4 separate regions of the Homo sapiens genome follow, and regions 1, 2 and 3 are each linked to region 4. Evidence: promoter capture Hi-C in 16 types of primary human blood cells and fetal thymus (Javierre and others, 2016). All regions are on one chromosome and are shown on one strand. The core of a region is centred on a gene start or on the middle of the fragment in contact, and the rest is flanking DNA. Distances in the headings are between cores, read along the strand shown.

Region 1 (6,628 bases), core at 477-2,976, 1.5 Mb before region 4:
TGCTCCCAAAATTATATATATCATAAATATACAGCTCAATGAATTTTTACAAAGTAAGCACATCTCCATAACTAAGACCTGGCTCAGGAAATGGAACATTGCTAGCATCTCAGGAGCCCCTTTCTATTCCCTTTCAGTCACTACATAACCCCAAGAAAACTACTGCCCTGACATGTAATAGCAGAGGTGAGTTTTTCCTTTAAATGAAATTATGTAATATGCCCTTTTATGTCTGGTTTATTCTGCTGAAAATTATATTTTGAAATTCATTCAAGTTGTGCTTGGTGGTAGTCTACTCACATTGCTGTTTAGAATTCATTGTGCAAATATACCCATTTATTTATTTGTCCTTCTGTTGATGGAAATTTGGGTGGTTTCCAGTTTTTAGCTGCTTACAAATAATGCTGCTTTCTTGTACAAGTCTTTTAAGAGATGAGTATATGCATTTCTGTTGAGTATATACCTAATGAGTAAAACTACTGGGTCATAAATTATAAATATGTTCAGCTTTCATAGATAATATTACACCATTTTCCAAAATGGTTGTACCATTTTTTTTTATCCCACCTGAGGTATAAGCAGGTCCCTGGTGCTCTGCATCCTCATTAGTGCTTGGCTTCATCACTAGCCATTCTGGTGTATGTGGAGGGGCATCTCTTTGTAGTTTTAATTTGTATTCCTTGATAACTAATGAGTATCTTTCTAAACTTTATCCACTGTTTGTGTATCCTTTTTAATTAAACTATTTTGCCCTTTTTCTGTTGCGTTGTCTGCCTTTTTGCTCATTGATATGTAGGAGTTCTTTATATATGTTGGGAATATGCCCATTGTCAGATATATGCATTGCCATCTTACGGGCCTTTTCCTTCTCTCATTAGTGTTCTTGATAAACAAAATAATCTCCCACAACTTCTAATTTTCTCTTGGACCCTTGGACTCTTAGATCCTCATTACTTCCTAGTTCATAGACTCACTGAAAGAGGAGAGAAAGGATTTCCATTAGGTATACAGAGAGCTTGAAAACTGTACTAGAAAAAAGCTTAGAGATCATCTCTCTCAGTTCCCTGGGTTTTTCTTTTAGGAAACTACAAGCCAGAGAGGATGGGTAACTTGCTCCTGGTCACAGAGCTGGTAGCAAAGTTGAGATTAAATCATGGGCTCTCATCTCCTAGCCCATCGTTCTTTGCACAGGCACATTCACTATTTCATTAACTTGGAGTAATGGGAAAAGAGTCTCCATGGGGAGTGACAGGACAATTGATAATCTGTGTCTGCATCAATAAGAGTTTCAACAACTCCAGGACCAGAAGACGAAAAGAGCAGGCCCTTCTGGGCCCAGCCTCCTCTACCCTCTTAACAGGAGCAGCAGGACATTTAGAAAGCTTTCATATGCATCACGAAGCCTTGCTAGGCCGTGCACAGCTTGATAGCTACATCTCCATTCCAAAAATAGCTAGGAGTTATTTATGTTGGCAAAAAGCTTGGGACAATAAAGAGAGATGGTGGATTTAACCCTACCACGGTTTTACTCTAATAAGTCATTGTGCTCTAGCAGAAACCCTGATTACCCAAAGTGGTTGGGAAATTATAAAGTCAAAGCTACAATTTATCTCATCTCTAAGGAGCCGATGAAATCGCCTGTCAAGGCTGTATCCCTCGCTGCCAGGGCCAAGTGTATCTGCTGAGGCAGCAGTCTGCCCTTAACAGGCAGAGGGTGCTGCTACAGGAAGGGTTGTATAGACACTGAACAGAACACCCAGGGTCTCCCTCGAGCACGGTGGATGTTAACAATGCCCTTCTCCTGTCCGCAGGCTCTGCCCATTACCCTGGCATCTTCTGGGGGACATTTTGACTGCTCCTTGATCACCTGGCAGTCCGACTGGATTTTTAGAAAACCTGATCTGATCAGGATTGCACTCCTACTTCATATTAGCATGACTTATTTACAGATAGACAAGATATCAGAAGCTTACACCCAAATGTGTAGCTCTGGATGGCGGTACTATGCATAATTTCTATTTTTATTATGAATTTTCCAATTCTTCTATTACATTAAACCATATGAAAATTTGCTGGTTTTGTAAGTGGCTGAATATTAGCAAGTTCAAGTGTTTTGACCTCATACAACAAGCAAGGATTATTGTGAATTTTAAATGTACTAAAGGCTTTTAAAATACTATTCCTATGTTAGAATCAAAATAATGCTAATATCTGCCACTTATTAAGTTTGTTTTATTGCTAGACTCTCCACTAAGCACCTGATATACTATTTAATACTCATAAGGTGGGGACTATTATTACGCCTATTTTACAGGTGAGTAAACTGAGACTCAGGGAGCTCAAGTTCCAGTAAATCATTCCCTCCATTAATAAGGGCAGAGCTGGAGCCCAGAGGCCAAAGCTCTTGTTCTTAACCATTATCCAGAGTCCCCATATTTCAACTATAACTCCAAGTCTGGAAGTGAAGGCAAACTTTTTGATGATGAGGCCAGGGTTTGTGAGTAGGGCTGGATCTCATTCATTCATCTCATTGTCATGAAGCCTCCTAATAACAGATACTCATTTGCTCAGCAAATACAGTATTTGGGGAATAATAAACAAAGGGTTAGACATCCTCCCTGTCCTTAGCTTTCCCAGTATGCGCGATGGCTTAGAACTAACCATGACCTCCCCAGCTGCCCATCTCCCACCTCTGGCCCCATTTTCTTCTCCCCAGGGTACATGGACACTCACCACAATCAAAACAAAGAATGTATGTTAACCTCAGGCCAGCAGAGGGAGAACCAACACACTAGCCTCTTTCCAGGTTTAAAGCAAACCTCTTCTCTTTAGAAAATGGTCCCATCTGTTTGAAACTGCCCAGCCCTTTTTTTTGAACGTTTCCCAGGACTGTGTAATGTTTCCGGAGAAGGTAATGTTACATTAATGATAAAAACAGCTCTTATTTATTGAATACTTACTGTGTGCCAGCATTATTGGTAGCTATTTTACATACAACCAGTATGTAAAACTAGATCTAGCTGACATCAGAGAGCAAATGTTTTACCAAGGAGCTTCAGTTATAGGTTTCGGAGGGCTGTGAGTACCTACAAAATTGTACTTAATTTATATGTATGCTGGGGAGTGGTGAGGGCTTGGGGGCTGTGGGTCTCTGTGTGTATACAGGCTTATGTTTTTATTTTTTATTTTTCCCAAGGAGAGGAGCCTTGCCTTTCATAAGAGTCTCAAAGAGGTGAATGACCCAATAAGATTTTAGAAACCTCCTTAGGAAGAGAGAATTAAGAAAAAGCTGCCTAACTGACATGAGAAAGTTCTGAAACCATTCATTGTTCTTAAGCCTCTGGCTTTACAACTGAATGGACCGTGTTCAGGCAAGCATGAAACAGTCAAGAACATTGATCAAGGAAGGATGAATTACAGATTCTTATCTATATTATCTAAGCTATACTGGAATAGAATGAAACATTTTGTGCTGTTGAGATTGTGAAACTGGTTTTGGAACCAGAGGAGGAACCAGAGGAGAACTCCTATAACATTGTGGGGTCAGGGATAGGAGAAGGCCAGAGTGGCCAGTGTATGCGTTTGTTTCCGAAGTAGAGCAGAGCAGGGAAGGAGAAAGTTCAAGCTTATCTAAGAAGGATAATCCATTCCACTTGGAAGGCACTTAACAGTTTATTACAAAGCTGTTTCATAAGCGTGCACTCTGAAGGTCTTCAAAATAATCCTGTAAAGTCAGCAAGACAGACTGTTACCTGCTTTTGATCCATAAAGAAATTAAGGCACAGAGAGGTTAAGTCATCTACCCAAGGTCACACAGTGAGTAAGAGGCCATGGTCTTCTATCAGCTAGCTGGATAGATTGACAACTTTACTAGTATAAAATATTTTAGCAATTTTTTTTCGAGATGGAGTTTCGCTCTTGTTGCCCAGGCTGGAGTGCAATGGCGCGATCTCTGCTCACCGCAACCTCCGCCTCCTGGATTCAAGCAATTCTCCTGCCTCAGCCTCCCAAGTAGCTGGGATTATAGGCATGCGCCACTATGCCCGGCTAATTTTGTATTTTTAGTAGAGACAGGATTTCTCCATGTTGGTCAGGCTGGTCTCGAACTTCCAACCTCAGGTGATCCTCCCGCCTCGGCCTCCCAAAGTGCTGGGATTACAGGCGTGAGCCACCGCGCCCAGCTGTATAAAATATTTTAGTAAGAAAGATGTTTATTGCCAAATTTTCCTTAATTGGGGACAAAAAAAAAGTAGCTGATAGATGCTATGTTAGTTTTAAATTCAAACTTTCAAATGTAATAAATTTGAAGGGCATGGCTTAGTGGTTAAGAATTTAGGCTCTGGAGTCAGACTTCCTGGCCCAGTACCAGGGTCACCCCTGACAAGGTGATGTAGCAAGCCAGGGAGTGCAAGCCAGTTAATGCCCGGGAGTGACCCTCACTCATGGAGGGACAGGAGTTGTGAATAAACACTCCAGGTTTCTTGCTGCTTAGGGGTAGAATTCTGAGGCGAGTTCCATGCAGTTTCTCAGAAGGTTCTGGGGAGGTCTGAACCTCGAGTTGCCCACAGAGGTAGCCTTGTCAACATTCTCTGTGGCCTCTCTCTTCTTCCCTGCCTCTTTTCCCCACTCCCTCACTGTGCTTTTGGGATGGCATGTTGTATTAGTTTGGGTCTTCTGAGAAGAAATGCCAAAGAACATCAAATGTGTAAGGAACCCATTGGGGGAATACGTGTATTGGGTAAACGGGAGGGTGAGGGGTAGGCAGGGAGTCTTCAGACGGTGATGCTGATCTGGCCCTTGTGAGGAGGTGGGAAGGCAGGAGGATTGGGCTGGAAGAGTCATGGATTGCATTGCAGTCCTAAGAAAGTTCTGACCAGGCTGATCAGACTCTTGAACTTAAGTCACTCACCTGAGGAGTCCTGTGTCCCATAGGAAAGGGCCTATATGGGTGCCCGCTGTCTTCAACCGCTGGCCTACAAGCAGCCTGTCCTCACCATTGATGTGGAGGTGGGTCTGGAAGGGCAGAAGCTGGGTCATCAATAGACCATGCATCCCTCCATGGGAGTTCTCTGATCATTTTCATACACACTCTGATCTCTGCATCTGATGCTGGATACTCCAAACTAAGACATAGCTCAGTAAGTAATTGTTACATGAATAAACACAAAAAGAATTTAGAGGTCAACACACACAGAAAATGAATAGCTCCTATGCAGGACCTCTTCTGGTAGCTGTGAACTTAATTTCCTTAGAAGATTCTGAGTCATATTTTTACAAAAAGCCCAGGCTCTCACCCTTATCATTAGGTAGTCTTGCAGAAAAGACCAAGATGAGAGAGAACGTAGCAGAAAATGCTGTGGGGGACTGTGCTCCCAGTTACCATGAAGACGAAGTGAAAATCTGTGGAAAGCATTTTACACTGCAATGAAGTGGGTTTCATTTGAAGATCACAGACCAAGCACATGATACTGCCTTCCCCTTTCTTCCCCAAATCCCTGGAAATGCTTTAACAGACATATTTTGAAAAGTAATAAGCCTAATAAATTATTTTTCCAACAAATATTCAGAGTTCTGTGATTACTATAATGCCCCATGTTGTCTAAACATCCCTTTTTATGGGTTTCCCAATAGGAACTCGAGCCTGAGAGATAGTAAGTCCTAGGGGAAGCAGCTGCTTGGTAAAGAAGAGGCTGTGATTTTTTTTTTTTAATGTCATGGATAGAAGAGGCAAGGGAAGGGGAAGTCATTGGGAAGAATACACCAGCCAAACAGCCCGACCTGGATATTAGCTGCCTCCTGCAAGCCAGGAGCAAAGTTGAACCCAGGGAATAATGTGTGCTGGCCAGCTGGGGAGGTAGCCAGCTGGAACATGGACAATGCATTAAATGACAACCCATCCATGCCTTACAGGTTTCTATCTGATCAAGGAACAATTGATCTGGCTCATGTTTCAGAAAGTGGAGGAAATATAAAAACACCTTAACTCTGTGCTTTCGAGATGTGATCTTGCCCCATATGCATTAGGAGTAAACTGTTAGAAAATTGAAAGTCACGACTACTTACTGAGTGTCTCCTGTGGACTAATGGGCTATCAGACCATTTCACAGCTGATGAAATTAAGGATCAGAGAAGTTAAGTGACCTAAATATAGGGTTGCCAGCTTTAGCAAATAAATTAAGGAAAGCCTAGTTAATTTGAGTGTTGGATATACAATGATAGCTTTAAGTATCCTATGCAGTTTTTAAAAATGATGGATAACTTTTAGTATATGCAGGTCCCATGCAATAAACTAAAAGCTAAAAAATTAAAAATACTAACAATATTTTGTTGTCAAAATATCTGGAATATAAATTCAATTGAAAGTTCTATGTTTCTTTTTTCTGGCACTCTTACTTAAATAAGAATGTGCAGCTGGTTAGTGTCCACATCTAGGCCCAAGATGCTCTCATTGTAGTAAAGTTTTCGGCTCTACTGCACTGATTCCCAAATACAAAAATTGAATCTGGGCTAGACTATTTTATTTGTTGTAACATATATTGTATTTTTTCATATCATACATTATTAAGCCCTTCTAAAATAAGCCACTTTTATACTAACCCTTATCTCAGAGCCTGCTTCTGGGTAAGGC
Region 2 (6,694 bases), core at 3,876-6,375, 1.4 Mb before region 4:
TATTCAAAAAGGCTGCATGTATTAATAACTTCAGCTTGAATGTCTGTATCTAACTGAATCAGTGAGATGCCTACTTATAAGGTCTCTTATTTTCCTTTTTCTGTTAAGTATTTGATCCTAAACTCCTACTCTAGGAAAGAAAACAGCAAAGCTATTTTAAAATGATTAGCTTGGTTGTACTTTGTAAAGCATCAGCTGCATCCCATGTGATTTTTAAAGCAACAAACATAAAACAGCCTTGAGCAACCAAAGAGCACATGACATCTCAAAATTGCTTTTTGAATTTAATGAAACCTATAGGCTTACATGCAAAAGATATTGATAATTCCATTAAATAAATTGCAGGAATTAAAATATGACTTCTGAAAAAACAGAAACAAATCTGGTTATAAAACAAACACTCATGCATTCTTCTGAAATACAGACATTAGGAAAAATTGTGTTCATGCAAACTGCCATCAGTTTGAAAACTAAATAGAAGAACTAAGGCAATTTTCAAGTTACCATGAACGCAACAATACTAATTATCATTAATAAATATGGAAAATCATAGCAATGTAATTTACATTTATTACTATAAGGTTATTTGAAAGCACCAAAATACTTCAGAAATATAAGACTCTATGAGGAAAAGTGTGCATGCAATCTATTCTAAAATATAAAAACTATCTGGCAAACAATCAACTAAATGGGCTTTCAGAAACAGATTACAGAATCTCACAATAACTAACAGAATAAAATGATTAGAAAACATTGTTGGAAAAGGCATAACCTCTTTTATTATAATATTTATTTCATGGTTTTTCTTAAACCCAGACATTTGCCACAAACACTTACAGGAGTATCAATAAAAGCTTAGAAAGGCTGAAAAACACAGAAAAGAACAAAGTAATCCAAATCTTGAAAAAAGATAACCTAAGAAAAGATTATAAACACTGAAAAATAACTAAGGAGGTCAGTGTACAATATTAGAAGCAGTATGACAAAGGGAATTCAAACTTAATCACAAGAGAACTTTTTGAAGAGATATTAATTTTTTTTGCTGGGATACATTAAAAACCCTGTTTTATTTTTAAAGAAGTGGTCAATTAGAAACTTCTCCTCTTGAAAATGAGGTACTCTTCCAAAGAAAAATAAGATTATAGAAAACCCCTATATTCTTATATTTAATGATTTAGCAGATGCTTGAACATGTATTATTCTGCTTAACTAGAAAGATCAGCTTTTATTGTACTTACAATGCTTGTGTTTAGTTCTCTAATTTTTACTTTAAAATAAAGCAATGTAGTGCTAATATTGTCCTTAATTTTAAGTAGATATTGATCATACTTTCCTGTTACACAATGTTATCACACCATACTCAGTAGCAGATGACGTGCTACTCTACTGCATAACGTAGTACTCAATCTCATAAGCTCTCTTCTCATTCTCTAGTTGTTCTACATAGATAACCCTTATTCATCTAACTAGACTCTTACCTTCTCCAAGACAAAGAATAGTATTTTTTATCCATATATTCTAAGGGTAATTAAAACACTAACATACAGAATGAATGAAGATACATTTCTTTTATTTTCTTTATTAATTTCGAACCTCAATAAAGTGTGTTAGCCATTCTCAGAAAAAAAATAAACAAATGTTTTAAAAGGCCAAAGCTATTCTAGTACTCACAAGAATTAAAATAGACAAGTGGAAAACATTTCAAGAACAATTAAAGCACTGAACACAGAATAGGAAACAAAAAGAAGGCATCCATTACTTAAGCTGTAATACAAGAGTCCATTCTTTTCCATTTTCAGTGGGCATGTAACAGTTTGATGACTATGAATGTCCCTGAAGTTCATCTGGTTTACAAACCACTATTTAAGAAATGCTTTATCAGATAAACAAATTGGGTTTGGTATGCAACTATATACTGTTTTTTTGTGTGTAAGGTGAGTAAAGATTCAAATAATATTTTTTCTGAGACAGATCTCCAAATTATGATTTACCACATTATCATAACAGCCTATTAAAGATTAATGGAAAGTATCTTCAATTAATTCAAGGTAGTTTATTATGTGACATGCTCAAGCACTGCAAGTAGAGCTTGTGGAAGAGCAAAAATTGAGAGTTGATATATTGATAATTCCCCAGGTGGAAGGCAGGCGGACATGCACGTACATGCTTCACACACTCAATTACTGTTCCAAGACATTACTTTGTTTACAGTGAGCTGATATGTCATATGTAAACTTGTAAGTAATAATAACCTCACTTAAAGGATATTTACTCTTTGATTTAAAACATATGAATAAATATAGCGTAACCTTAACATTAAACTGAAAACTCCTATTTTTTTGGGAAGAGGGGGTGGTGTCTTGTTATGTTGCCGAGGCTGGACTCAACTCTGGGGCTCAGGCATTCAATCCTCCTGCCTCAGCCTTCCAAGTAGTGCACATTGCTGGATCTGGCTGCAAATTCCATTGTAATATAATTTAGAATTCAAACTTTTGAGTACGATTCTCGCAAGGGTAACTAGCTAATGACATTTTAAAGTACAGTAATTAATAACCCTAAGCAAATTCATGTAGATATACTGGCCAGGCATGATGGCTCAAGCCTGTAATCCCAGCACTCTGGAGGCCGAGGCGGGCGGATTACATGAGATCAGGAGTTTGAGACCAGCCTGGCCAACATGGTGAAACCCTGTCTCTGCTAATAATATAAAAATTAGGCGGGTATGGTGGTGCATGCATGTAATCACAGCTACTGGGGAGGCTGAGGCATGAGAATCGCTTGAACCCGGGAGGCAGAGGTTGCAGTGAGACGAGATCGTGCCACTGCACTTCAGCCTGAGTGACAGAGTGAAACTGTCTCAAAAAAAAAAAAAAAAAAAGAAAAGAAATTCATAGAGATATGTATGTAATACTCATTTTAAAGTCAGAAATGTTTATAATAATTTATATTTGCTTTTAGAAAGTTTTAAATTTGAGGGTTTTCTATTTTTAAAAAATCTTATTTAAAATAAAATTCCAACCCACAAAATTTTACATATTAACAGAAATAAAAATCAACCTACAAAACTAGCTCTTTCTTATTTATTGAATTCGATTACGTGTTCAGCTCTTGACACAGGTAAAGCCCGCGGTATCCAAGTATAAGAATTAAGACTTCAGTTCTAGAATTTTGTATTATATTCTAGGCCCCAATCAGTTTGAGACTAAAGGAAATAAAAAGTAAAATGTTGTAAAATAATGTACTTGTTAACAAAAATATACTAGAATTACACTGTATATGATGATAAAAGGTCAGAAATGCAGATAATCTCCTCAGACATTTAAGTGACTAAGAATCTTCTATAATTTTAATTTTGCCAAAGAATGAGAAACTACCCAACATTTTAAGATATCAATTTCATTTTGTAGCTGCTGCTGTATTTTTAAGAGGCTCAACTTCAAATACTTCAACCTTTTATGGAAAGATGGAAACACACAACAAACTATGTGTAAGTACTCTTAGGGTACTTAGAGGAGACAATGACACTGCTTTTAAGTCCAGTTGAAAGGTCACATACTACCTCCACTGCCTTAGACTAATGCCTAAGACCCTTTGCTCAAAGAAACCAAGAGGCTTGTATTCTAAAAATAGAGGCAAGGGGGGTGGGGCAGCATGGAGGAAAAGAAATGGCCAAAACAGATCAGAGAAAGTGTTAAAAGCTGGCTGGAAAGGCCTTAAATGACCCAGTTCAAGGTCCCCCTTTTACAGATAAGGAAACTGTGACCCAAAGAGATGAAAACCTATAAACTATGTCATTCAATGTCATAAAGATTATGAGGAAGAGGAAGAAGATCCAAGTTTCAGGCCTTCTTTCCTTCCAGTTCCATTCACTTTCCATTATCTCTTTTTTCCCCCACCACTGTGTTTTACTTCATCACATCACACCTCTGGCTCAAAAGTCCAAAGGGAATGCCAATATCTCAGCAGTTTACCAGATAAGTTTATCTTTAAGCACCAAAATCATTTTTCCTAAAATAAATTTCCCTAAAATCTTAGGTTATAATACAGGTAAAAGCAGAATAGCTTTGATTGAAGTCTAAGTGGGAGGGCAGCCCCGGAGGCTGGTGTGAAAGCTTCCCTTTCATTATCACCCCTATCTCCTCTCTAGCATCCCTCCAACTGAAATCAACTCAATAATCTGATTTCTCAACATCTGTCCCTGCCTCATGGACCATGTATGCCAGCTAATTTGTATTCTTTTCCATGGATACTTATTTCTCCTATATATGTATCCTATATATGTATCCATCCTATTGCTTCTTTCTGCACAGAGTAATTATGTCCTCTTCTATTTGAAAACATTTCTCTTGCCACCTTCAAAATAATTACATTAATTTTCTTCTCCTAAACATACCATCTCCTAGGCATTCATGTATTGAATTTAAATACAAAAATGCTACCATAAAAACGTCACTAATAAGGCTTAACTGGACCAGACTAGAGAAGAGAGTAGAGGTAAATAGCTAACTTATATTAACAAGACAATACGTTGCAAATTGCATGAAGTAACTACCATTTCTAGGTGAAGACCCTGGCAGGACTACTTTGGAAAACAGGCAGGACTTGGCTAAAACAATTGTTAGTGGTTGATTATCAAAATTAATGCTAACCTTCTAGATTAGAATGTTACTTACAAACGTATTATTAATCTGTTTATGTCCTTACTTGTAAAATCATCTCATGTTGATAAATTAACCAAGGAAGAGACTTAGAATAACATAGCTCCATTCATATAACACACACAACGTTAAGTCTATGCTCATTCAAACTTGAGCTCTGTAAGAAAGAACCTGCATATATAAGGACTGAGTTTTCTATAACCTATAATAATCCTCACCACCTGGTACCTAGTATACATTCAAATTCAGTTTGCAGGAAGAAAGATAGCATTTTGTAACCACCAAAGGTGTAAATGTAATTTGATTAAGGCTAACTCCCAGCTTTTTGACTAACGGTTTCTCCATAGGAAACTGATTATTTGGAATAAGTCAGGGTATAAAAGCAGTAACAAAATTTAGAATACTAGGCTATATATTTTTTAATAAAGGTGAAAAAACTGAACCAAGAGAAGTCTTTTTTAGAAATATATCTCAAAACAAATACAGACTTCATGACAAAAATTTACTGAAAAGTTCTATGAAACATCAAATATAAAGCTAGATGTTAAGTAAACATATGATTTTGTACCTAATTGCATTTAATTCTGAAAAGAGATACAATCTGCTTAGTTTGACTGATGTTTAAAGTCAGGTGCTCTTGTGTATATAATTCCTTTTTCCAAAAAAAGTTTATTATGTTTTAGAATTATAAAAGGATTACTCTTAAATTTGAAAATAAAAAATTTCTTACATTAAATAGTTCAAAGCAGGTGATCCTTAAAAAATAAATTGCTTCAGTGTCCTCTAACATATGTTTCAATAGGTATAATAAGAAAGTAAATAATAAATCCTACTCATAATATAAATACTAAACTCCTAACCGAAATCCTAAAAAGTATACACTGTGCAGCCTACCTGGTCTATTCTGGATGTTCCGGCTGCAGTGCACCAACTATCTTGGAGTGAATCTGAGCCCCAAGCTGGCAACTGCAAACTAGATCTCACCTTCAATAGCATAGAAGTTTTCATCAGAAATGAGCAGTTGTCTTCCCCATACCCACCCAACGAAAGAAAGAAAGAAAACAAAAAATAAAGCTCTATCTTAAATCCTCATTCCATCCTCTAAAGGTTTAAGAAAAAAACAAAACAAAACAAAAACCTCACTTGCAATAGCCATAAGGGAACTTCAAGAAAATAATAAAAATACTGAAAGAAAAAAAAAGTCTAATCAACGTATTAGGCCACATTTAGAAAAAATAATCGGTGAATTAGTGAAGATAAATTTAAATTAGATGCAAAAAAGCCCTAATATTATTTTGCCACAATCACAGCTGTACTAAGTATATTCTAATATATATACAGCCAATTATAGTCAATTCTAAGAACAGTTACAATTACAGAACATATTAGCTTAGCTATATTAAAGGAGAAACAAATTTTGGTGGCCCATTAGAATTTATAAATTAAAGCATTCTTAAAGAGCTGCTAATTGAAAGCTTCAGTATGTATTTAATAAATACAAAAGGTTTTTCTACGTTTTACTAAGCTTATTTTCCATTGCGTGTTTAGAGAATTATTTTACATTCTCAATTTTCTCTGTATAGATATTTTAACCTTTGTTAATTAAATTACATGCTTAAAAATTAAAACTTTATTTCAAAAAATGTTAATTTTAGCATACCACTACCACCACCACCCAACTCCCTATTTTGAAAGATTAACATTAGAGATAAGGTCATTTACATACCATTCTTACCTGTAAGGGTAAGAGTGTATTACTATTGTTGTCTGTTCTGAACACATTATCTTCAATCCAAGATTTTGGAGTCAGTGATGGAGTTGAGCGAGTAAATTTCGGTGGTGCTATGACATTACCAGAAAACGGTTTCTTCAATGGAGATATCTGATTCATAGTTCCTGGGATTCCCATGTTTCCGGTTCTACGATGATCTCTGCCATGCATTGCTCCCCAGGACATACTTCCAGTGCCCCAGCCACTGCTCTGATGGTTGCTCCAGGGAGACTGTTTCAGAAGAGGCTAGGGAAAACATAGCTAT
Region 3 (7,023 bases), core at 4,172-6,671, 1.1 Mb before region 4:
AGCAGGTTATTTAATTTCCATGTGTATGCATAGTTTTGAAGGTTCTTTTTGGAGTTTATTTCCAGTTTTATTCCACTGAGGTCTGAGAGAGTGTTTGATATAATTTTAATTTTTTAAAATTTATTGAAACTCGTTTTGTGCCCTATCATATGGTCTATCTTGGAGAAAGTTCCATGTGCTGCTGCATAGAATGTGTATTCACTGGTTGTTGGATGAAATATCTGTATATATCTGTTAAGTCCAGGTGTTCCCAGGTATAGTTTAAATTCATTGTTTCTTTGTTGACTTTCTGTCTTGATGGTCTGTCTAGTGCTGTCAGTGGAATATTGAAGTTCCCCACTATTATTGTGTTGCTGTCTATCTCATTTCTAGGTCTATTAGTAATTGTTTTGTAAATTTGGGAGCTCTAGTGTTAGGTGCATATATGTTTAAGATTGTGATATTTTCCTGTTGGACAAGGCCTTTTACCATTATATAATGTTCCTCTTTGTCTCTTTTAACTGCTGTTTCTTTAAAGTTTGTTTTGTCTGACATAAGAATAACTACTCCTGATCACTTTTGGTGTCCATTTGCATGAAATGCCATTTTCCACTCTTTTACCTTAGGTTTATGTGCGTCCTTATGTGTGAGTTGAGTCTCTTGAAGGCAGCAGATAGTTGGTTGGTGAATTCTTATCCATTCTGCAGTCCTGTATCTTTTAGATGGAACATTTAAGCCATTTACATTCAATGTTAGTATTGAGATGTGAGGTACCATTCCATTCATCATGCTGTTTGTTGCCTGTGTACCTTGATTTTTTGTTTTTGTTTTTTAAATTTTATTTTTGTTTTATAGGTCCTGTGAGATTTATGCTTTAAAGAGGTTCTGTTTTGTTATGTTTCCAGGATTTGTTTCAAGATTTAGAGCTTCTCTTAGCAGTTCTTGTAGTGGTGGGTTAGTAGTGGTGAATTCTCTCAGCATTTGTTTTTCTGAAAAACACTCTGTTTTTCCTTCATATATGATGCTTAATTTATCTGGATACAGAATTCTTGGCTGCTAATTATTTCGTTTGAGGAGGCTGAAGATAGGGCCCCAATCCCTTCTAGCTTGTAGGGTTTCTGCTGAGAAATCTGCTGTTAATGTAATGGGTTTCCTTTATAGGTTAGCTGGTGCTTTTGTCTCACAGCTCTTAAGATTCTTTCCTTGTCTTAACTTTAGTTAATCTGATGACAGTGTGCCTAGGCAATGATCTTTTTGCAATGAATTTCCCAGGTGTTTTTTGTGCTTCTTGTATTTGGATGTCTAGGTCTCTATCAAGGCCAAGGAAGTCTTCCTTGATTATTCCCCTAATTGTTTTCCAAACTTTTAGATTTCTCTTCTTCCCCAGGAACGCCAAATATTCTTAGGTTTGGTTCTTTAACATAATCCCAGACTTCTTGGAGGCTTTGTTCATACTTTCTTATTCTTTTCTCTTTCTTTTTGTTGGATTGGGTTAATTTGAAGACCTTGCCTTTGAGCTCTGAATTTCTTTCTTCTTCTCGTTCAATTCTATTGCCAAGATTTTCCAGGGCATTTTGCATTTCTAAAGTGTGTCCAGTGTTTCCTGTAGTTTTGATTGTTTCTTATTTATGCCTTCTATTCCATTGTATATTTCTTCCTTCCCTTCTTGTATTCCTTTTTGGATTTCCTTGCATTGGGCTTCACCTTTCTCTGGTGCCTCCCTCATTAGCTTAACAACTAATCTCCTGAATTCTTTTTCAGGTAAATCAGGGATTTCTTCTTGGTTTGGATCCATCGCTGGTGAGCTGGTGTAATTTTTTGGGGGGTGTTAAAGAGCCTTGTTTTGTCATATTACCAGAGTTGATTTTCTGTTCCTTCTCATTTGGGTATGCTCTGTCAGAATGAAGTTATAGGGCTGAAGGCTGTTGTTCAGATTCTTTTGTCCCACGGGGTGTTCCTTTGATGTAGTGCCTTCCCCTTTGCCTATGGATGTGACTTCCTGAGAGCCAAGATGTAGTGATTGTTATCTCTCTTCTGGATCTAGCCACCCAGCAAGTCTACCAGGCTCTGAGCTGGTGCTGGGGATTGTCTGCACAGAGTCCTGTGATGTGAATGGTCTATGGGTCTCTCAGCGGTGGATACCAGCACCTGTTCTGCTGCAGGTGGTGGTGGGTGAAATGGATTCTGTGAGGGTTCTTAACTTTGGTAATTTAATGCTCTATTTTTATGCTGATCGGCCTCCTGCTGGGAGATGGTGCTTTCCAGATAGCATCAGCTGTCATACTATGGAGAAGGCAGAGAGTGGGGCTTTAGACTCCCAAGAGTATATGTCCTTTGTGTTCAGTTACCAGGTTGGGTATGGAAGGACCATCAGGTGGGGGCAAGGCTAGGAGTGTCTGAACTCAGACTGTCTTTGGGTGGGTCTTGCTGTGGCTGCTGTGGAGGATGGGGGTGAGGTGCCCAGTCAATGGAGTTATGTTCCTACAAGGATTATGACTACCTCTGCTGAGTCATGCTGTTTGTAAGGGAGGTGGGGGAAAGCTGGCAGCCACAGGCCTCACCCAGCTCCCACACAATCTGAAGGGCTGGTCTCACTCCCACCATGCCTCTCCTATGAGCACCAAGTCTGTTTCCTGGCAGTGGGCAAGCAGGGCTGAGAACTTGCCCCAGGATACCTGCCTCCTAGCTGCAACAGAAAGTAGGGCTTTAGTTCTTCCCCTACCTGCAAAGTCTGGATGCTGGATTCATGCCCTCCCCCAAGTTGTGGCTAGGAGCCTTCTCAAGCAGTTTGAATTGTTACAAAGTTCAGCTAGAGATTTCCTTCTCCCTGTGGTGTTTTCCCCACATCTCTGGCCACCCTCCTGAAGGTTCCCTGTGATTCCAGGCAGCAGTGGCCTGCTTGGGGATGCAGTGAGCTCACCAGACCTTTCCCACTGCTTCTTCTACCCCTGTATTTCGCTTGGCTGTCTAAATTGACTCAGCTCCAGGTAAGGTCAGAATCTTCTCCTGTAAACTAGACCTTCAGTTTCCCCAGTGGAGGTGTGTGTTCAGGGGTGGACAACCTCTTTTTCCCACTTCCACAGTTTGCACACTTACAATATTTGGTGTGTCTCCCAGATTGTGCAGGAGCAGTCTGCATCCTTCAGAGGGTCTTTGGGTCCTCTCATGTTTCCTGATTTATTCCTGCATTTGTTCTGGATCTAAAATTCATGATGCAAGCCTCCACACACTTCTCTGTCCATCTGAGTTGGAGCTGCAATCTATTCTTGCCTCCCATCCGCCACATCCAATACTTTTTTGTCCTCAGGTAGTTCTTTATAGCAGTGTGAGAATGGATTAATACAGTAGGGGTCCAGTTTCAGTCTCCTACATATGGTTAGCCAGCTATCCCGGCACCATTTATTGCATAGAAAATTACTTTTCCTGTTTCTTATTCTTGTTGGCTTTGTTGAAGATCAGATGGCTGTAGGTGTACAGCTTTATTTCTGGATTCTATATTCTATTGCATTTATTTATGTGTCTGTTTTGTACAAGCACCATGCTGTTTTTAGTTACTGTAGCCTTAGTATAGTTTTAAGTCAGGTAATGTGATACCTCTGGCTTTGTTCTTTTTCATTAGGAATGCTTTGGCTATTTGGGCTTTTGTGGTTCCATATGAATTTTAGAACAGTTTTTTTTAGTTCCATGAAAAATGAGTTGGTAGTTTGATATAAATAGCAGTGAATCTATAGATTTCTTTGGATGTTGTGGACATTTTAACGTTATTGATTCTTCCAGTCCATGAGCATGGAATGTTTTTTCCATTTGTTTGTGTAATCTATGATTTCTTTTAGCAGTGTTTTGTACTTCTCCTTGAAGTCTTTCGCCTTCTTGGTTAGATTTATTCTTAGGTATTTTATTTTATGTTTTTGTGGCTATTATGAATGAGATGGCATTCTTGATTTGGCTCTAAGCTTGAATGTTATTGGTGCAACAAAATGCTACTGTTTTTTGTACTCTGATTTTGTATCTTAAGATGTTACTAAAGTTGTTTATCAGTTCCCCAGCCTTTTGGCAGAATCTTTAGGGGTTTTTAGGTCTCTAAAATACTTATCATCTGTGAAGAGTGATAGTTTGACTTCTTTTCTTATTTGGATGCCTTTTATTTCTCTCTCTTGCCTGATTGCTCTGGCTAGCACTTCTAGTATTATGTTGAACAGGAGTGGTAAGAGTGGACATTCTTGTTTCAGTTCTCAAGGGAAATGCTTCCAGTTTTTGCCCACTTAGTATGATGTTGCCCATGGGTTTGTCATAGATGGCTTTCATTATTTTCAAGCATGCTCTTTCAGTGCTTAAGTTCTTGAGGGTTTTTATTATGAAAGGATGTTAGAATTTAATGAAGACTTTTTCACATTTATTGAGATGACCATATGGTTTTTGTTTTTAATTCTGTTTATGCGGTGAATGACATTTATTAATTTGCATATGTTGAACCAACGTTACATCCCAGGAATTAAGCCTAGGTGATCATGATGAATTAACTTTGTAATGTGCTGTTAGATTTGATTTCCTAGTATTTTGTTGAGAATTTTTGCATCTATATTTGTCAGGCATATTGGCCTGTAATTTTCTCTTTTTTTCATGTCTTCACCAGCTTTTGGTATCAAGATAATTGTGGCTTCATAGAATATGTTGGGAATGAGTCCCTCCTCTTTGATTGATGTTTTGGAATAGTTTTTGTAGAATTGGTACCAGCTCTTCTTTGTATGTCTGGTAGAATTCAGCTGTGAATCCATCCAGTCTATGGCTTTTTTTGGTTGGTAGGATTTTGTTGCTGATTCAATTTCAGAACTCAATATTAGTCTGTTCATGGTTTCAGTTTTTCCTGATTCAACCTGGTGAGACTGTGTGTTTCCAGTAACTTACTCATTTCCTCTAGAATTTGTAGTTTGTGTGTATAGAGGTATTTATAATAGCCTCTGAGGATCTTCTGTATTTCTGTGAGATATTATGTCACCTTTGTTATTTCTAATTGTGGATATTTGCATCTTCTCTCTTTTTCTCTTGTTAATGTAGCTAGTGGTCTATTGATCTTGTTTATCCTTTCAAAAATACCTTTTGATTTCATGGAGTCTTTGTGAAGATTCTGGGACATAAGTTTTGTTCAGTTCTGACCTGATTTTAGTTATTTTCTTCTGCTAGCTTTGGGGTTAGTTTGTTCTTGCTTTTCTAGTTCCTCTAGGTTTGCTCTCAGATTATTAATTTGAGATCTTTCTAACTTTTTGAGGTAGGTGCTTAGCACTATAAACTTTTCTCTTAACACTGTTTTTGCTGCATCCTAAAGATTTTGGTATGTTGGGTTTCTGTTTTCATTTATTTCACATAAGTTTTTGATTTCTGACTTAATTTCATTCTTTACCCAAAAGTTATCCAGGAGCAAGTTGTTTAATTTCCATGTAATTATGTGGTTTAGAGAGATCTTCTTGTTATTGATTTTTAGTTTTATTCTACTGTGATCTGAGAGTATGGTTGGTATTGTTTTGCTTTTTTAATGTATCGAGACTTGCCTTATGGTGAGCATCTGGTCAGTCTTGAAGTACGTTCTGTGTGCAAATGAGAAGAATGTATATTCTGTGGTTGATGGATGGCGTATTCTGTAGATGCCCATTAGGTCCAAATGGTGAAGTATCAAACTTAAGTCCAGAATTTCTTTGTAAATTTTCTGCCTCAGTGATCTCTCTAATGCTGTAAGAGGGGTGTTGAATAGGGCTTTCCTCACTATTATAATGTTATTAAGTCTTTTCATATTTCTAAAGTAGTTGTTTTATGAATCTGGGTGCTCCAACGTTGGGTGTGTATATATTTAGGAAAGTTAAGTCTTCTTGTTGAAGTGAGCCCTTTATCATTGTGTAATGCCCTTCTTTGTCCTTTTTTACTGTTGTTAGTTAAAGTCTATTTTTTTCTGATATAAGAATAGTGACCCCTGCCTTTTTGTTTTCCATTTTCATAATAGATCTTTATCCAACTCTTTATTTTGAGTCTATGGGTGTCATTATGTGTGCGATGGATTTCTTGAAGTCAGAAGATGAAGGGATCCTCTTTTTTTTTAAAAAAAAATACAAATTGGCGTTCTGTGACTTTTAATTTGGATTGTTAGACCTATTATCATTCAAGGTTAATATTGATATATGATGTTTTGGGGCTACCACGAAGTTATTGGCTTGTTGCTTTGTAGTTTGTATTGTGTGGTTGTTTTATAGGGTCTATTGACTATGTACTTAGGTGCATTTTTGTGGTAGCTGTTATTGTTCTTTGTTTCCATGTTTAGAATGCTCTGAAGAATCTCTTGTAATGCTCGTGTAGTGGTAATGAATTCCCTTAAAACTTGCTTATCTGGAAAAGATTTTATGTCTCCTTTGCTTATGAAACTTAGGGAGGGATATAAAATTGTCAGTTGAAATTTCTTTTCTTGAAAAATGCTAAGTTTAGACCCCCAATCTCTTCAGGCTTATAAGGTTTCTGCTGTTAGCCTGATGGGATTCCCTGTGCACATGATCTGACCTTTTTCTCTAGGCCTTTCTCTTTAAGGTTTCTTTTGCATTGACCTTGGACAATCTGGTATCTCTATGCCCTCCTGTTCATTTTGTACAGTATCTCATAGTATTCTCTGGATTTCTTGTATCTGGATGTCTACCTGTCTAGTAAAATTAGGAAAATTTTCTTCAATTTTTCTCTGTAATACGTTTTCCAGGTCATTTGCTTTTTATCCTTCTCTCAGAAATGCTAATGACTCATAGGTTTGGTTACTTTACATAATACCATATTTCTTGAAGACTTTTTTAATTTTTTAAAATTCTTTTTTATTTTTGTCTGATTGGATTACTTGGAAAGACCAGTCTTCAAGCTCTGAAATTCTCTCTTCTACTTGATCAAGTCTACTGATAAAGCTTTCAATTGTATTTTGAAATTCCTTAAGTGAGTTTTTCAATTCCAGAAGCTCTGATTGATTTCTTTTAAATATGTCTCTCTTTCTTCATTTCCTCGATTGCTTTAGAAGTTTCTTTG
Region 4 (6,645 bases), core at 2,803-5,302:
CGGCTCGATATTTAGGCTGCTTTCCTCCTCTCTCCCTTACCCCATTCCCATCAACACACATGCACACATACACCTGTGTGCACACACCCATGCACACACACAAATGGGATGTGAGCCAACAGAACACTGTGTGACCTTGAACCAGTCACATCTTTCTAAGCTTCCATTTCATCAGCTGTAAAATGAGGAGGGCAGACTCAGTTATCCCTTTCTTTTCTAATATTGTATGATTCTAATCTTCCCATCATTCTCAAATGATGGAATTAGAATTATAAAATGTCTGAAATGGAAGACATGCTGAAAACTAATCCACTAATGAAATAATATCCCCATATTTCAATTCTTCCTTATTTTTTGAGACAGCGTCTCACTCTGTCTCCCAGGCTGGAGTGCAGTGACACAATCTTGGCTCACTGAAGCCTCAACCTCCTGGGCTCAAATGCTCTTCCCATCTCAGCCTCCCAAGTACCTGGGACTACATGTGCTCACCACTACACTAGGCTAATTTTGTTCATTTTTTTTGTACAGAGAAGGTCTCACTTTGTTGCCCAGGCTGGTCTCGAACTTCTGGGCTCAAGTGATTCACCCACCTCGGCCTCCCAAAGGGCTGGGCCTACAGGTGTGAACTGCTGCACCCAGCCCACATATTTGAATTATTTTAGTGACACTTTCATCCTTTTTTTCACATCTCCACATTACTATCATTCACTTAACTGGTTTTTCTTTAAATTGACTTTTTTTTTTTTTTAGACAGAGTCTCGCTCTGCCGCCCAGGCTGGAGTGCAGTGGCATGATCTCAGCTCACTGCAAGCTCTGCCTCCTGGGTTCACGCCATTCTCCTGCCTCAGCCTCCCAAGTATCTGGGACTACAAGTGCTCGCCACCACGCCTGGCTAATTTTTTCTATTTTTAGTAGAGATGGGGTTTCACCGTGTTAGCCAGGATGGTCTCGATCTCCTGACCTCGTGATCTGCCCACCTCGGCCTCCCAAAGTGCTGGGTAAATTAACCTTTTTACTTAAATACATATATTTAAAAGGCATCCCTTATCACTATCACAAATAGAAAACCATAATCATTTGCTATACATGTAATCATAATTAAAGGAAAATAAAGCAATCTAAGAAAATTTTGGCTGGGCCCCACTGCCTGCCCAAGGACCCCAAGCTGCTGCTTGTCCCTCTCTGTGGAAATGGCAGCATAGTATATGTTTAAAGGCACTAAGGTCATGTTGGCATCAAAGGAGACTCTTTTTGCCCTAATCAGAATAGAAAAGAGCCACATTCTCTCCCAAGGGATGTCCATTTTATCTAATACAGAGGCTAGGTGCCACCCAAGATCTCTCTCAAGAACTTCACTTTGGATAAAATGGTCTCACCACTGTTCCTTAGGTTAACGTTGTAATTAGTTCATCTAATGCTCCAAATTGCCAATATCTGCATCTTCTTCACCATGACCTTCACCTGCTACCATTGCCAGGCAGCTCCTGTGAGAAAACAGATATGCTCAGAAACACACACACGCACAAGCACATGCTCCAAAACAATTTTTTAAACAACATAATGCTTCCCTGGCACTTCCCCAAGTCCACTGCTCTAGGAATCGCTGACCTCGGGCAGGTCTACGTCACTACTTTTTCTAAAGAAATCGCTGCCCATGTACAACAAAGAGCAACTTCCATTGAGCATTTGGGGAGCTCTTGAAGCGACTTCCTTTTTTCCTTCTCTCTCTTTATAGACGCGATGTGGAGTAGGGAGCAGGTGGTACACCCTTGTGGGAAAACAGGTACAGAGACTGTGGGGGGCAGACAGGGACAAAAGAGAGAGAGACACTGCCTTCTGCTTATTTTGTGTGGTATAGGAAGAAAATATTTAAACGTTTCTACTTTAGATACAGTCTGGCTTCCAATTCCAGTTCTATCATTTTCTAGCAACATAAATTTGGGCAAGTTGCTCAGCCCCTCTGAGCTTTAATCTCCTCCTTAGCAAAATGGCTCTGGTGACACACCCTTCCTTGCGTTGTGAGTGTGTAAGGCAGGTATGGTACCAGGCGCCGAGATAAACATTCATCTAACAGTCCCTTCCTCTTTTACCTTTTGTTTGTTTGTTTTTACTTTGGCACCATTTATGAAGGTCCAAAATAAATCCCTTTTTTATTTGTTTGGTTGTTTGTTTGTTTTGCCTTCTAAATCCTGAGTCTCATCTACAAAGTGGAAAAAAAAAAAAGGCTGTGAATTTCCATAATGTAAGTTTCGTTTTCTATGACTCGATTATGGCAAGTGATGTATAAAGGCTGAGTGGAGTGACAAGGAGGGGCACAGAGAAGAGGGAGGACAAACTTTACACCAGCAAATCCAACAATCGGCCCCTTTTGAAAAATCATTAGCAGCCTGCTGGAAGCTCCAAGTCTCCCAGATTTGGGATATGAGAGAGTAACAACATGAATCTAGAAAATGTGGTGCCTTTCGTGCATAGATTTGAATTAGAGAATTCTTGGTCAGTTTTGCATATGAAGTTGGGGAGAAGGCGTGGGCGGCGCAAAGAAAAACAGAGAAACACCTCCCCCTGCTGCCTGGATGGCGAATAGCAGCAAAGATGCAAAAAAAAAAAAAAAAATTCCATGGTCATATAAAAACCCTCAGCCTATTCCGAGGGTTTGCAAAGGATTCACTATGTGCAGGCAGCTGAATTTTATGGAATGCATTTTCCTATCCTAAGTTACCTTCAAAGGTCATAAAAAATGATCTTAGGACATTATTACAATGATGATGCTTTCCACTGGGCATGTTGTTATTTGTTTCTTGAACAGGAAATATATTAGCGTAACTTTTAAATTAAAATGATATAAAAGTTATAATTGAAAAGTCTTGTTTCTGACTGCCTTACGTATACCTAGCTACTTTTATTAGCTTTTCATATAAATATAAGTAAATGTGACTAATGTAGTCTTCTTTTTTTCCTTCTTACACAATAATTAGCTGTTTGACACTCTTCCGGATATTGTTTTTGTCACTTAACAACATAACTTGGTGATCCTCCCAGAGCCGAAAAGCTCTCCCAGATATGTTTCAGGGCAGCGTAACCTTCCTTGTTCTTCCTTCACTGAGCATGTTATATGTGGAAAGAACACATCCCCACTTGGGGAAACCAGATAAATTGTTTAAATTATTGCAAATGTGAATGATTTTAATGTAGAAATAACCTTTTTCATTCCACATTAATCACAAATACTGTTCACAACCCTTCGTAATAAACTTGTCTCCTGCTTATTTTTTTTTTTCTGGTATTCCTTGTGATTAGAATCTCTCGCCTTGGTATCCGCTGTGTTCAAGAGCAGAACAGAGCTTTGAACTTTACAGGCTAGTGCTCAGAATTAAAAGTGCTTAATGCCACCAAGATTTCTATTAAAAAACCCAGGGTAAAGGAAAAAGCCTTTTGCTTCAGCTGAAATGTTCTTGTAAAGGGCAAAATGGAAAATACAAACACCACTGCCGTTTGCTGGTTGGATACCACAGCCATCGGCACCTCCTGGAAATGGCAAGCCCATGAGTTCCTGATGGAAGCCAAGGTTAGTCTTATTGCATTTGAGAGAGTTAGAAAAGTGTCTTTCAGTGTGGACAGAGAGCCAGCAAGATTGTGAAGGTCAAAGAAAAATCCAATTATCCATAGCAAACACTGACCATACAATTAAATTACACCAGTCAGGAAAGCATCTGATCTTCTGCAACGGACTTCTTCCAGCAAATTTACCCTTGAATCAGTCTGGGCCATTCATTGGCAGCCAGCTGATCAGTTTCCTTCTGCTGCCCTGCATCCTGCAACATGTCTGTAGCAGATGTATCACTGCCCACCTACATCCCCTTGGCCCACCCCAGAGGTCACCTGCAGCTGCAGTGGTCAACTCCCAAGCACGCAGACATCTCAGCATCAAGAACCTGCTTCTCTCTGCCCAAGGGCTTTTTCTGGCCATAGAAGTATCCCCTGCACAGTCCAGATATGCAGGCTGGACAGAAGTTCCAGGGAGCTACCATTCCCAAGAGCAAGCCTCAAGCAATGCCTGGGAGATAAACACCCAGCTCCCTTGCTTGCCCCTTGCCTTGCTGGGGCAATGCCAAAGTGTGTGGTGCCCATACTCTCAGAGGGACACCAGTGCGACTGAGCCCCAGGTGGGACCTACTCATTAACATGCTGTTTATTGGCTTTTCTCTCTTCCCTACTGTCTCATCATTTTTCTGGGATTGACTCCTGTGAGAGCCTTGATCCAGTCAAGAGACAGAAACTACACAGTAAGTTCAACAGGACAAGTGTAACACAGAGTCATTAACTACAATGAAGAGTATAGATATAAGGAAACTCTACAAAGCAACCTAGAGCTACGAGGGAGAACTTAGGAAAAGACGAACTTGAGAAGGATTCAGACCTCTTGGGAAACGGTGAGGTTCAGCCCACGAGACAGCAGAGAAGTTAGCTGCTTTGGCTAGGCTGGAGCCGGCCTGGAATTGCTGGGAACCTCCAGGTGCAGCCAGCCTCCGTTGTGCACGCAGGGGGCGCCAATCAGCAACTGATGGTGAGGGATGGAGCCCGGGAGCTGGCGGGGGCTGCAGGAGGCTGCAGAAGGAGCGGAGCGGCTACTCAACGCCTGACCCTGCCAGCTAAGTGCAGCTGCACACAGGCCGAGCAGAAGCTTGCAAAGGGAGGCTGAGTCCCGGACCCAAGTGTAGCAAGCAGGGAAAGGGAGGGTAGGGCACCGGTAAGGGCAGGAGCCCTTCGGAGGCTCACTCTGTGCTGGGGAGCTCTGCTTTCCATGTCAAGAAGCCTGCACAAAAATTATCACCAAGCCGGGGCTGCAAAGTCACAGAAGGACCAGTTCCACCCGCTGTCCTCGTCCACCCACACTACTGAGCCGCGGTCCCCGCACAACCGGCGGAAACCCTCCTCCAGCTGCGGTGTCCTCCGGCGCCCTCTACTGAGGAAGCCTAGCATCGCGCGCACTTAAAGGAGACGGGCTCAAAGGCACGCCTTCGTTAGTCCCAGAGCATAAATTAATAAAGGGTCCATTCAGAGCTGAGAGGCACAAAAAAAAATTTTTTAAAAAGATAAATACACCTCCAAAGTCCCACTTGCACTCAAACCCTTGTCTCAGGATCTGCTTTTGAAAGAACCCAAATCACGACAATGTCAGACAGAGATGTGATTTTTGTTGACAAAAAGAGTCAGACTCTAAAATATTTAAAGAGATTTATTCTGAGCCAAATATGAGTCACTAATGGCCCATGACATAACCTTCAGGAGATCCTGAGAACATGACCCCAAGGTGATTGGGGCGTCACCTAGATGTATACATTTTAGGGAGACGTGAGACTTCAATTAAATACATTTAAGACATACATTGTTTCAGTCCAGAAAAGGGAAAGTGGGGAGGTCTGCTTCCAGTTGTAGGTAGATTTAAAATTTGTCTGATTTGTCAATTGGTTGAAAGAGTTACTATCTCTAGAAAGAAATGTCTCGGTTACAATAAGAAGTTGTGGAAACCAAGGTTTTATCACGCAGATGAAGCCTCCAGGTAGCAGGCTTCAGAGAGAATAGAATGTAAATGTTTCTTATCAGACTTAAGGTCTGTGTTGATGTTAAATGCTGGCCACGTTTCCTGAATTCCTAAAGAGAGTAGGGTATAACGAGACATGTCTGACACCCCTTCCCGTCATGGCCTGAACCAGTTTTTCAGGTTAACTTTGGAGTGCCCTGGCCAAGAAGGGGTCCATTCAGATGCTTGGAGGGGCTCTAGAATTTTATTTTTTGTTAATATTTTAATCTTGGCTCTGTATGACCTCAAGAAAGGGTTTTATCAGCTTAGAGTCTCCACTTTCTCATCTGCAAGATGGAGGTGATAATAAACAGTCCACCTCACAGGGACTATTCTTGAGAGAATGAAACAAAATAGACCACCTGCTATGCACTTGGTACAAAATAAGTGCTCAAAATAAGTGCTCAATATCACCTCCCTTCCTCCTTTTCAAACCAAATCAAAGCCCCAAAGTTTCTTCTTCCTTTCTTTAAGTAAGAGTCAAGGTATGAGAATGCTCCAAGCTACTCTGCTCAAGACATTTTTCCCTTAAATTTGGCCCAGGCCATCTTGGAGGAAAATGGAGAGATTAGAAGGAGGCCTTGACCTGAAAAGGAATGATTTGAAGTATTGGAAACAAATGATAAACAAGTATTTCTCTACAGAGGAAAAAGTTCCAGTATAGAAGTTCTCTAGGATATGACAATTTCTGTTGGCACTTAAATGAATGAGCTTTAAAGGGAGGAATAGCAGTGTGATAATTGCTACCATTAATTAAGAGTTCACTATGTGCCAAGAATTCAAAGTCATAACCTCTCTTAGTCCTCATAACAATTCTTTAAGGTAAATGCTATTTTTAATCTCATTTATGCAAATGATGAAACAGAGGCTCGAAAAGATGAAGCAGTTTTCCCAAGGTCAGAGCCAGGATTTGATCCCAAGCCTACTTGACTCTAATCCTTGGCTTCAATTGCTATGGTGGATACAACTGGGATTTAGCCTAAGAAGTCAGAAGTCTGCGGTCCTGGTCCAGTCTTTATGTTTAAATCCCTATGTTTTCCAGAGAGTAATTCTTCCCTCCCCAA

What was found. Contacts are between HindIII fragments. The CHiCAGO score rates a contact against its expected background, and 5 or more counts as called.
Region 1: a contact is called between a fragment that was not itself captured here and the fragment with the promoter of LINC01182 in region 4, in 1 of 17 cell types (total B cells). The highest score is 5.5, in total B cells.
Region 2: a contact is called between a fragment that was not itself captured here and the fragment with the promoter of LINC01182 in region 4, in 1 of 17 cell types (naive B cells). The highest score is 5.4, in naive B cells.
Region 3: a contact is called between a fragment that was not itself captured here and the fragment with the promoter of LINC01182 in region 4, in 3 of 17 cell types (monocytes, M2 macrophages and total B cells). The highest score is 10.8, in monocytes.

The regions. Positions count from the first base shown.
Region 1 is chr4:15,193,329-15,199,956 of GRCh38, reverse strand. The region is part of intron 2 of C1QTNF7-AS1 (C1QTNF7 antisense RNA 1); the gene reads left to right. Among named protein-coding and RNA genes, the nearest start is that of CPEB2, 190 kb to the right of the region's middle. The HindIII fragment of the contact is 488 bases long and covers 1,483-1,970 here.
Region 2 is chr4:15,007,286-15,013,979 of GRCh38, reverse strand. CPEB2 (cytoplasmic polyadenylation element binding protein 2) reads right to left here. Exons shown (of 12, transcript NM_001177382.2): 2 at 6,394-6,675; 3 at 5,553-5,642. It overlaps C1QTNF7-AS1 (C1QTNF7 antisense RNA 1), which reads left to right. Exons shown (of 6, transcript NR_125911.1): 4 at 3,408-3,487. Among named protein-coding and RNA genes, the nearest start is that of CPEB2, 8.2 kb to the right of the region's middle. The HindIII fragment of the contact is 2,021 bases long and covers 4,115-6,135 here.
Region 3 is chr4:14,788,531-14,795,553 of GRCh38, reverse strand. The region is part of intron 2 of LINC00504 (long intergenic non-protein coding RNA 504); the gene reads left to right. Among named protein-coding and RNA genes, the nearest start is that of LINC00504, 96 kb to the left of the region's middle. The HindIII fragment of the contact is 2,973 bases long and covers 3,935-6,907 here.
Region 4 is chr4:13,652,586-13,659,230 of GRCh38, reverse strand. It overlaps LINC01182 (long intergenic non-protein coding RNA 1182), which reads right to left and starts at 4,052. Exons shown (of 4, transcript NR_121681.1): 1 at 3,880-4,052; 2 at 1,377-1,484. RefSeq lists an enhancer at 4,478-4,527. The HindIII fragment of the contact is 4,521 bases long and covers 163-4,683 here.